Regions from separate parts of the Homo sapiens genome. Here all the other regions are linked to region 3. The links are contacts of gene promoters, found by promoter capture Hi-C in human tissues and cell types (Jung and others, 2019). All regions are on one chromosome and are shown on one strand. Each heading gives the region's core, a stretch centred on a gene start or on the middle of the fragment in contact. The rest is flanking DNA. Distances are from core to core; before and after follow the strand shown.

Region 1 (2,700 bases), core at 198-2,697, 150 kb after region 3:
CCCAGATTCATGCAATTCTTGTGCCTCAACCTCCTGAGTAGCTGGGATTACAGGTGCACGCTACCATGCCTGGCTAATTTTTGTATTTTTAGTAGCAACGAGGTTTCACCATGTTGGCCAGGCTGGTTTTGAACTCCTGACCTCAAGTGATCCACTTGCCTCAGCCTTCCAAAGTGCTAGGGTTACAGGCATGAGCCACCACTCCCGGCCCCAGGCTTACTTTGTGTATTTCGTGCCAGAGTTGTAGATTCAGCTGGCTCTCCAAGGCCACTGCCTTTTTAGCAAATGTTTTCTCTCAGGTATGTTGACATAGAGTGATGTGGATGCCTTGAGTTATTTCTTCTCTTGATGGTTAGTCATAGTTACTAGAGACTCTGGAGTTGGGAAAGGTAGAGGTGGACCTGGGAAATCTACCCCCTGAGAATCAACTGCAGTCCTGGGAGTTAATCCCAGTAGCTGGCTGTTGTTCTACTCACCCATTCATACTGCTCTTACCCCTGCCTGATGCTATGACTGATCCAAAAAATGGTCTGATTTGGTCTTTCCTTTGGAATTTACCTATGGAGGTGTGGGAAGATGAGGCATGTGTATATAATCGTTCTCTATTTCAGGTGCTAAGTTCTCCAGCTAAACCTTCCTGGACTCTGGGTCTTGTAAGAGATTCCACATGGTCCGGGCCAGTCAGTGTCTTTTGCTGCCCTTCCAAAATGGACTGCCCCCATGGGACGGTTTGTGGCTGTTGGCGGGCTCAGGGTAGGCTGTCACTTTGTGCCGTGATCCTGAATCATTGAATAGCTGAAATCCTTCCATTGTACTGTCATCTCTCTGAAAATGTGTAACTTGAGCCCTGCTGGAAACACTAACTTGGGATCTTAACAGGAGTTGGTTTACAAGCCTTTTGCCTTCTATTCATAGCTCCATGTATGTCCCCTTCAGGTGGCTGTCAGAGGCATCCCAGGCATGGAGGAGGGCGTGGGTGGCCTCTCTAACCCTGGCTGCTCTCCTAGACATCAGATTGCTCTCTGAGCTGCTCAGACAGCGTGGTGATGAATGACGCCAGTTTCCAAACCTCTAGCATTTGCAGCCTGGTTTTTAAAAGGAACTCTGCTTTCTTTGTCAGCTGCTCTATTCCTGTCCCCTAGCCCTCTCAACAACTGAACTGCTTCTTCCCTTTCCTGAAAGAGGCTTTGAGATGGAAGGAAGGGCATTTGGGCTTTAAGATGCTTTGTGGGCTGGGCGCGGTGGCTCATGCCTGTAATCTCAGTACTTTGGGAGGCCAAGGCGGGGGGATTGCTTGAGCGCAGGAGTTTGAGATCAGCCTGGGCAACATGATGAAACCCCATCTCTACCAAAAAAAAACCCAAGATGCTTTGTGTTAATGGGGCTTTTTTTTTTTTTTTAAGAGGTTATGGTTTGCATGGTTGGGGCCTTCACCCCATGCAGATTTATTGGATGGTAATGGTTTCTCCCCTCCATTTTTGTGGTTTTGGGAGCTAGTCTCTGGAGGATACAAGATTGGGGTTGTTGACAGGACACTGAGTATCTTCTAGGAAACTGAGGAAAGACGTCCTCTTCAGCATTCTCTCCAAATGAGAGGTGCTGAAGAATGGAGTCCCGGGAAACTGGAGGTAAGAGGAATGTGTGAATGTTGTCTGACAGATGAAGTGAGGAGTCCGGCTCCTTCACAGGGAAGTGAAGGCGCAGGGGCTCCCCTGCTACAGAACATGTACTGAATGCTTCCCGATGCCAGGCCCTTTGCTGAGAGTCTCACATGCATCATCTTCCTGGCAGTCCTGGAGACGGGTGGTACTGGTCTCTCCATTTTACGTGTGAGGAAATGGGTTCAGTGACAACACCAGGCCACCCTAGTAAGTGGTGCCTCCAGAACTTGAACTGAAGTTCAAGTTGTCTGACTCCAGCACTTGTGCTCTTAAGCTCTGTGCAGTAGGGATGGAGGAAGTCCTCCCTGGGGAAGTGAGGCAGCTCCTCAGCTGCTCTGTGGCTCTGTTAGGGGACCCGAGCCGTCTGGCAGATGAATGCAGATTTAAGCCCTCAACTTCCCCCGTTCACTTGCCAAGTGTAAGCGGGCGGTACCTCTCACATGCACAGTTCACCGTATCTGTGCTCACCTACTATGGGTCAGGCTTGCTGTTATGTGCTGTTAACACAAAGGAAACCCATTGTCCAGCCTTTGAGAATTTTGTAATGTGGTTGTTTTCATCTGCAACAGTGCCTTTAATTTCTCTTGCTTTCTCTCTCACAACCCTCAGTCCCCCAAGTTCTCCAGCCCCTTGCCACCTACACTAGTCTTATGAACATTTGGGGCCATGGAAGCAGAAGTGTGATTCGCTCATTGAATCTTGTTTAGACCTATTCATTGCTTGATTTCTTCACTGGGCACCACTCTACAGTTTGTTCAGCAAAAATTAAGAAAGATGGCAGACACAGTGGCTCATGCCTGTAATCGCAGCACTTTGGGAGGCTGAAGCAGGTGGATCACTTGAGCCCAGGAGTCTGAGATCAGCCTGGGCAACATGGTGAAACCCCATCTCTACAAAAAATAGAAAAATTAGCTGGGCATGGTGGCATGCGCCCGTAGTCCCAGCTACTTGGGAGGCTGAGGTAGGAGGATTGCTTGAGCCCAGGAAGTCAAGGTAGCGGTAAGCTATGATTGCGTCACTGCAATCCAACCTGGGCAGC
Region 2 (2,700 bases), core at 156-2,655, 200 kb before region 3:
GGAGTGCAGTGGCATGATGTCGGTTCACTGCAACCTTTGCCTCCTGGGTTCAAGTGATTCTCAGGCCTCAGCCTCCCGAGTAGCTGGGACTACAGGTGCATGCCACCAAATCCGGCTAATTTTTGTATTTTTAGTAGAGGCAGGGTTTCACCATGTTGGCCAGGCTGGTCTCAAACTCCTGACCTCATGTGATCCACATGCCTCAGCCTCCCAAAGTGCTGGGATTACAGGCGTGAGCCACCATGCCCTGCCAGAATGAGCACCTCTTCACAGGGAGTACACAAGATCTGAGGTGTCAACATGTTTATTTATTTTTTAATAGAGATGGGGTCTCACTATGTTGCCCAGGCTGATCTTGAAATCCTGGGCTTAAGCAATCCTCCTACCTCGGCCTCTAAAAGTGCTAGGATTGGCTGGGCGCAGTGGCTCACGCCACCCAGCACTTTGTAATCCCAGCACTTTGGGAGGCCAAGGCGGGTGGATCATGAGGTCAGGAGATCGAGACCATCCTGGCTAACACAGTGAAACCCTGTCTCTACTAAAAATACAAAAAAATGGCCGGGCGCAGTGGCTCACGTCTGTAATCCCAGCACTTGGGGAGGCAGAGGCAGGCAGATCACCTGAAGTCAGGAGTTAGAGATCAGCCTGGGCAACATGGTGAAACCCCGTCTCGACTAAAAATACAAAATTAGCCGGGCGTGATGGCACATGCCTATAATCCCAGCTACTCGGGAGGCTGAGGCAGGAGAATCGCTTGAACCTGGGAGGCAGAGGATGTGGTGAGCTGAGATCGTGCCATTGCACTCCAGCCTGGGCAACGAGAGTAAATCTCTGTCTCACCTAAAAAAAATAAAAAAAAAATTAGCCGGGCATGGTGGCGGGTGCCTGTAGTCCCAGCTATTCGGGAGGCTGAGGCAGAAGAATGGCGTGAACCTGGGAGGCAGAGCTTGCGGTGAGCCAAGATCACGCCACTGCACTCCAGCATGGGTGACACAGCGAGACTCCGTCTCAAAAAAAATTAAAAATAAAATTAAATTAAAAAAACAGTGCTAGGATTAACATCTTTAATTTTAATTCAGTTATTCAACAGCATTTAAAGTGAGGCATTAGAAGAAACAATGAACAAAAAGGCCAGGCATAGTGGGTCACACCTGTAATCCCAGCACTTTGGGAGGCTGAAGCAGGAGGCTTCCTTGAGCCCAGGAGTCCAAGACTAGCTTGGGCAACATAACAAGACCCCGTCTCTAAAAAAAATTAAAAATTATCAGCCTGGGCAACATAGCAAAACCCATCTCTAAAAAAATTTTAAAAATTAGCCAGGCATGGTGACACATGCCTGTAGTCCCAGCTACTCCAGAGGTTCAGGCGGGAGAATCACTTGAGCCCACGAGGTTGAGGCTGCTGTAAGCCGTGATTTCACCATTGCACTACAGCCTAGGCAACAGAATGAGACCCAGTCAAAAAAAAATCATAAAATAAAAAATTAGCCAGGTGTGGTGCTGTGCGCCTGTGGTCCTAGCTATACAGGAGACTGAGTTGGGAGGATCTCTTGAGGCCAGGAGTTTGAGGCTGCAGTGAACTACAGTCGTGCTGCTGCACTCCAGCCTGGGTGACAGAGGGAGACTCTGTCTCAAAACAAACCAAACCAACCAAACAAACAAAAAAAACTCTAGAGGAAAAAGATAACAAGCTTTTTTTTACCTGGATTTATCTCTCGGTAAGTTCCAATTCCATAAGCATCTACTATGTTCTGAAAGCCATAGGTAAACTTGTTGGTTTTGTTATAGGTTGGGGGAGTCTGGTTTGTCTGCATCCTGTTCAAAATGGAAGGTACAGTGGAACCACTGTGTTCCTGAAAAACATTAGCACATTTATCAAACTTAGGTTATCCTCCTAATTGTGGTAGTGGTTACACAGGTGTACATTTCTTGAAACTCATCAAATGGTACACATAAAATGTATGTATTTTCTTTCATGTAAATTATATCTCAATAAAACTAATAAACCTAAAAATAAAACTAGATTATCTTTCCCAGCTTTTGGGAAAACTGGGAAAAGGTATAACATTTATAATGGAAGATTTCTATTAGATCCTCTGAAATACATCCTTAATGTGAAAAAAATTTAACTTTAAAATATGTCACCAAAGAAAATGTGGAACTGCCTCCATATCTGCCTTTTTATGAAAGTTGTTCTCCCCCTTTCATGGAGAAAGCAAAGTATGTTCTCTGGCTCTCCTTCTTCACTACCTTCTCTTAACTTCCTGATCCCTTGCAGTCTGGCTGAGCATGCTTAGGCAAAGTGACTGGCTCCTGACCAAAGAGCTTCTCTCCCCCATGCACGCCCCTGACATTGGAGATCTTTGGTGAAAATCCTTCTTCCTTAGGAGTTCTCCTCCTGCTCGCTGACCATTGCTTTTCTATCTTTGCTGGTTATTTCTGCTCTGCCTATCTCATAGCATTGCAAGACCCCAACCTTTTTTTTCTCTCTATGACCTCCCTCTTGGAGGTCTCATTCCCTTCCATTCTCATGACTCCCATTTCCTTAGCTTTGTTCCCTTGTCTGCTTGACATTTCCACATAGACCTCAATGTGCCCGGAACTGAACTTACCATCTCTCCCCAATCAATAAGCTTCTCTGGCTGAACATTTACTTCCCTCATTGGAACCCTAATTCTCCTGGCCAGTCAGCTTTGATGCC
Region 3 (2,700 bases), core at 112-2,611:
CAGGGCAGAAGAGAAAAACCTACTGTGGCACCTCCTTGGGCAAGGAGGTCAGGGAGCTGGAATAAAGTGGAAACCCCAGGCTCATGACCGAGGGCACTCCAGGGCCCACAAGACTTGTTCCCAGCAGCTCCACAGACATCCGAGTCTAAAAACATTCTCTGTCCTCCCAGGCTTCCCCTTTCCCAGGGGCACCACCCCTTCCGCACAAAGAAGGACAGGCAGGACCAGAGTCACACCAAACCACCATGAGTAAAACTAGAGGCCAAAGGGCCTGGATGGTAGGGACCCTCTGAGGAGGGGCAGGGCGGGACGTGCCTACCATGGCTGGCTCTCAATCCACTGGGCCAAGTAGTGCCGGACCTCGATGGGGAAGTGCTGGCCGTACAGCACCTGCATCTGGCGCAGCGCGTCTCCCTGCAGCTGCTGGGCCTGGATCCAGCCCGCCATGGCCGTTCACCTAGGGCGAGCCGAGCGCTGAAGCGCTCTCCTCTGCAGAGGCCAAGGAACCGGGCCTGCCCCTGGCCTTGCCATGCCTACCTATCCCTGGACCGCGGCCAGGCCAGGCCCCTCCCCTCCCACAGATAGCTTTCCTGTGCGGGAACAGAGATGGTGAGGAGTGGAGGGCCGCCCATCCCCTCCAACAAGGAACCCGCTGAAGGGGAGGGGAAGGTGCTCTGCAGAGGCAGGTGCCCTCCCCGTCTTCCTCTCCCCTCGCCCCACCGGAGCTTCCCTAGTGAGGGGGACGGCCAGAAACTGAAAGAGAAACTTGACGGCGGGAGGCCCACAGGCCCCCTGGAGAGGGCTGCAAGGATCCCCCAGCCCACCTCGGGCCCGGTTTCTGGGAAGGGGAGATATTCCAACCCGAAGTTAGGCCAGCGCCACGACGGCTCCCACTCGACGGCTAGGGCTTTTCGGGCACGTGGCTGGGGCTGTTCAGGAGACAGGGCTGAGGACTTGGGCGCTCCCCTCTTCGGCTGCTCCCCCATCTGTGCACTAGTGCCTCCCCGGGTCCAGCCCGACAGGTGCTCCCTCTCCGAGGCGTGCCAGGACGGCGCCCTCCCTGGCCTCTGCCTTTCATCCCCGACCCCTGTCCCCACGTCCCCCCGTCCCTCGTCTGCGCTGGGCCAACTCCCTCGCAGTGCCGGGGACTGATCCCCGCGCTGCGCCCGGCCGTCGAGCTCCGGGTGCCGGAGGTGCCGGGGCGGCAGTAGAGTGTCCCCTCTCGGCGCGCCGCCGAGGACGCGCCACCGGGTCACCCACCTGGTGGGGCCGCACCGTCCGGCAGCCGGGCCGGCTCTGCGCCCCGCGGCTCTCGCTCCCGGCCGGGGTTCCTGGCGGCGGCGGCAGCGGCGGCTGTTACTACAGGAAGGAGCGGAGAGCAGCGATTTCCTCCTCAAAGGTCAGCTGCCTGCGATAGACCATACACAGCGCGCGAGCCCGCGCCAGCAGCCCTCCCAGCCCCGCTTGCTCCCTCCCTGCCTCGCCCTCAGTCGCCGGCTCCCCTGCAAGTGCGCAACAGCGGCGGCCGTTCCCGGCGGGCGGCGCCGGGCGTGGGGGCTGCCCCGACGGCGGGGTCCCCCGGGAGTCCCAGCAGGCCCTCGGCGGCGGCTCCCAGGGAGCGTCCCGGAACCGGGGCGGGTCAGAATAGCCGGGGGAATGTGGTTGTCGGGCGTTGCCGGGAAATCCCGGGCTCTGGAAATCCCAAACCTGGGCCTCAGTTTTCTCATCCGCAAAAAGGGAGGAGGGAAAAGTGGACCAATTGGCGACGCCTTCCAGCTCTGGCGCGTGTCATCTTTTGAGCCCCTAGATTAAAAAATAAATGTGTGGGGTGTGTGTGTGCACGCGCGTGTGTGCGCATGTGTGTCTTGGGGGCCACAGGTTTTGTGACCTCAGAGACAAAACTGTAGAGAGGGGAAGAACTGGGGATTCTAGTGAAGCCAAGATCACCCCCACCACCGCAGCACCTCCCTCCTTCTTTTACTCCGGCCATCTAAACTCAACCCTGACGGAGGAACTGGAAAGAATCTTGGCAGTCATGTGTTTCAGCCCTCCCCCTCTCCACAATTTTGCAGGTAAGAAATGGAAGTCCTGAGAGGGAAAGGGGCTTGCCCGGGGCCACCCAGGGCCACACAGTAGGCACGTGGCCTCACCAGCCGACTGTGATCCATAAACTAGCCAGCGCCCCCGTTCACCCAGCCTAGTTACTTATGAGGCTGGTTCTACCTTCAGAAAAGTCCAGGGAGGGACCGTCTTGAGTCCTCCTAACTTCGAAACTCTCTACAGGCCTTGCCACAGCAGTGAATATCCTGTCTAGAGCCTCAGTCCCCCTCTCCAAGAGGCCCCTTCCCACGAGGCCCAAGGGGTTTGGTAAGGTCGGGCTGGACGCCTTCCATCCCCTTTGCCCAGCTTCCCTCTCCTCTGGGCCTCCCCTCTGCCTGGCAGCGGGTTGGCAGCACCAGAGGAGGGGCCAGCCCAGCTGCCCACTCACAGCACAGCTGGGCCAAGACTGCATGTTCTGTTGGGGGGGGTGCATTCTCATCTGCCTCCCTCCCCAGCTGCTTCTCAGAGCTGCCCTTTTCTCTCCATTTCCACTCTCCTTTCTTGCCCCTTACTACCTCTCCCAGTTTCATTCTTTTAACTTCAGAGGAAAAAAAAAAAAAGAACTTCAAAGCTGCAGAAGCCAAAATGTCTGCGTTCTCC

The links. Contacts are between HindIII fragments. The study calls those that stand out against the background at their distance.
Region 1: a contact is called between a fragment that was not itself captured here and the fragment with the promoter of STAT5A in region 3, in 1 of the 25 tissues and cell types used here (mesenchymal stem cells).
Region 2: a contact is called between a fragment that was not itself captured here and the fragment with the promoter of STAT5A in region 3, in 1 of the 25 tissues and cell types used here (pancreas).

Annotation. Positions count from the first base shown.
Region 1 is chr17:42,140,865-42,143,564 of GRCh38, reverse strand. The region is part of intron 1 of RAB5C (RAB5C, member RAS oncogene family); the gene reads left to right. Among named protein-coding and RNA genes, the nearest start is that of RAB5C-AS1, 12 kb to the left of the region's middle. The HindIII fragment of the contact is 7,835 bases long and covers 1-2,700 here.
Region 2 is chr17:42,489,639-42,492,338 of GRCh38, reverse strand. It overlaps ATP6V0A1 (ATPase H+ transporting V0 subunit a1), which reads right to left. Exons shown (of 22, transcript NM_001130021.3): 11 at 1,702-1,852. Among named protein-coding and RNA genes, the nearest start is that of MIR548AT, 3.8 kb to the left of the region's middle. The HindIII fragment of the contact is 3,999 bases long and covers 1-2,700 here.
Region 3 is chr17:42,287,159-42,289,858 of GRCh38, reverse strand. STAT5A (signal transducer and activator of transcription 5A) reads right to left here and starts at 1,361. Exons shown (of 19, transcript NM_001288718.2): 1 at 1,261-1,361; 2 at 320-457. The coding sequence starts at 447. It also overlaps a transcript of STAT5B not described here. RefSeq lists enhancers at 298-357, 1,804-2,304, 2,588-2,647 and silencers at 1,008-1,687, 1,708-1,787. The HindIII fragment of the contact is 10,924 bases long and covers 1-2,700 here.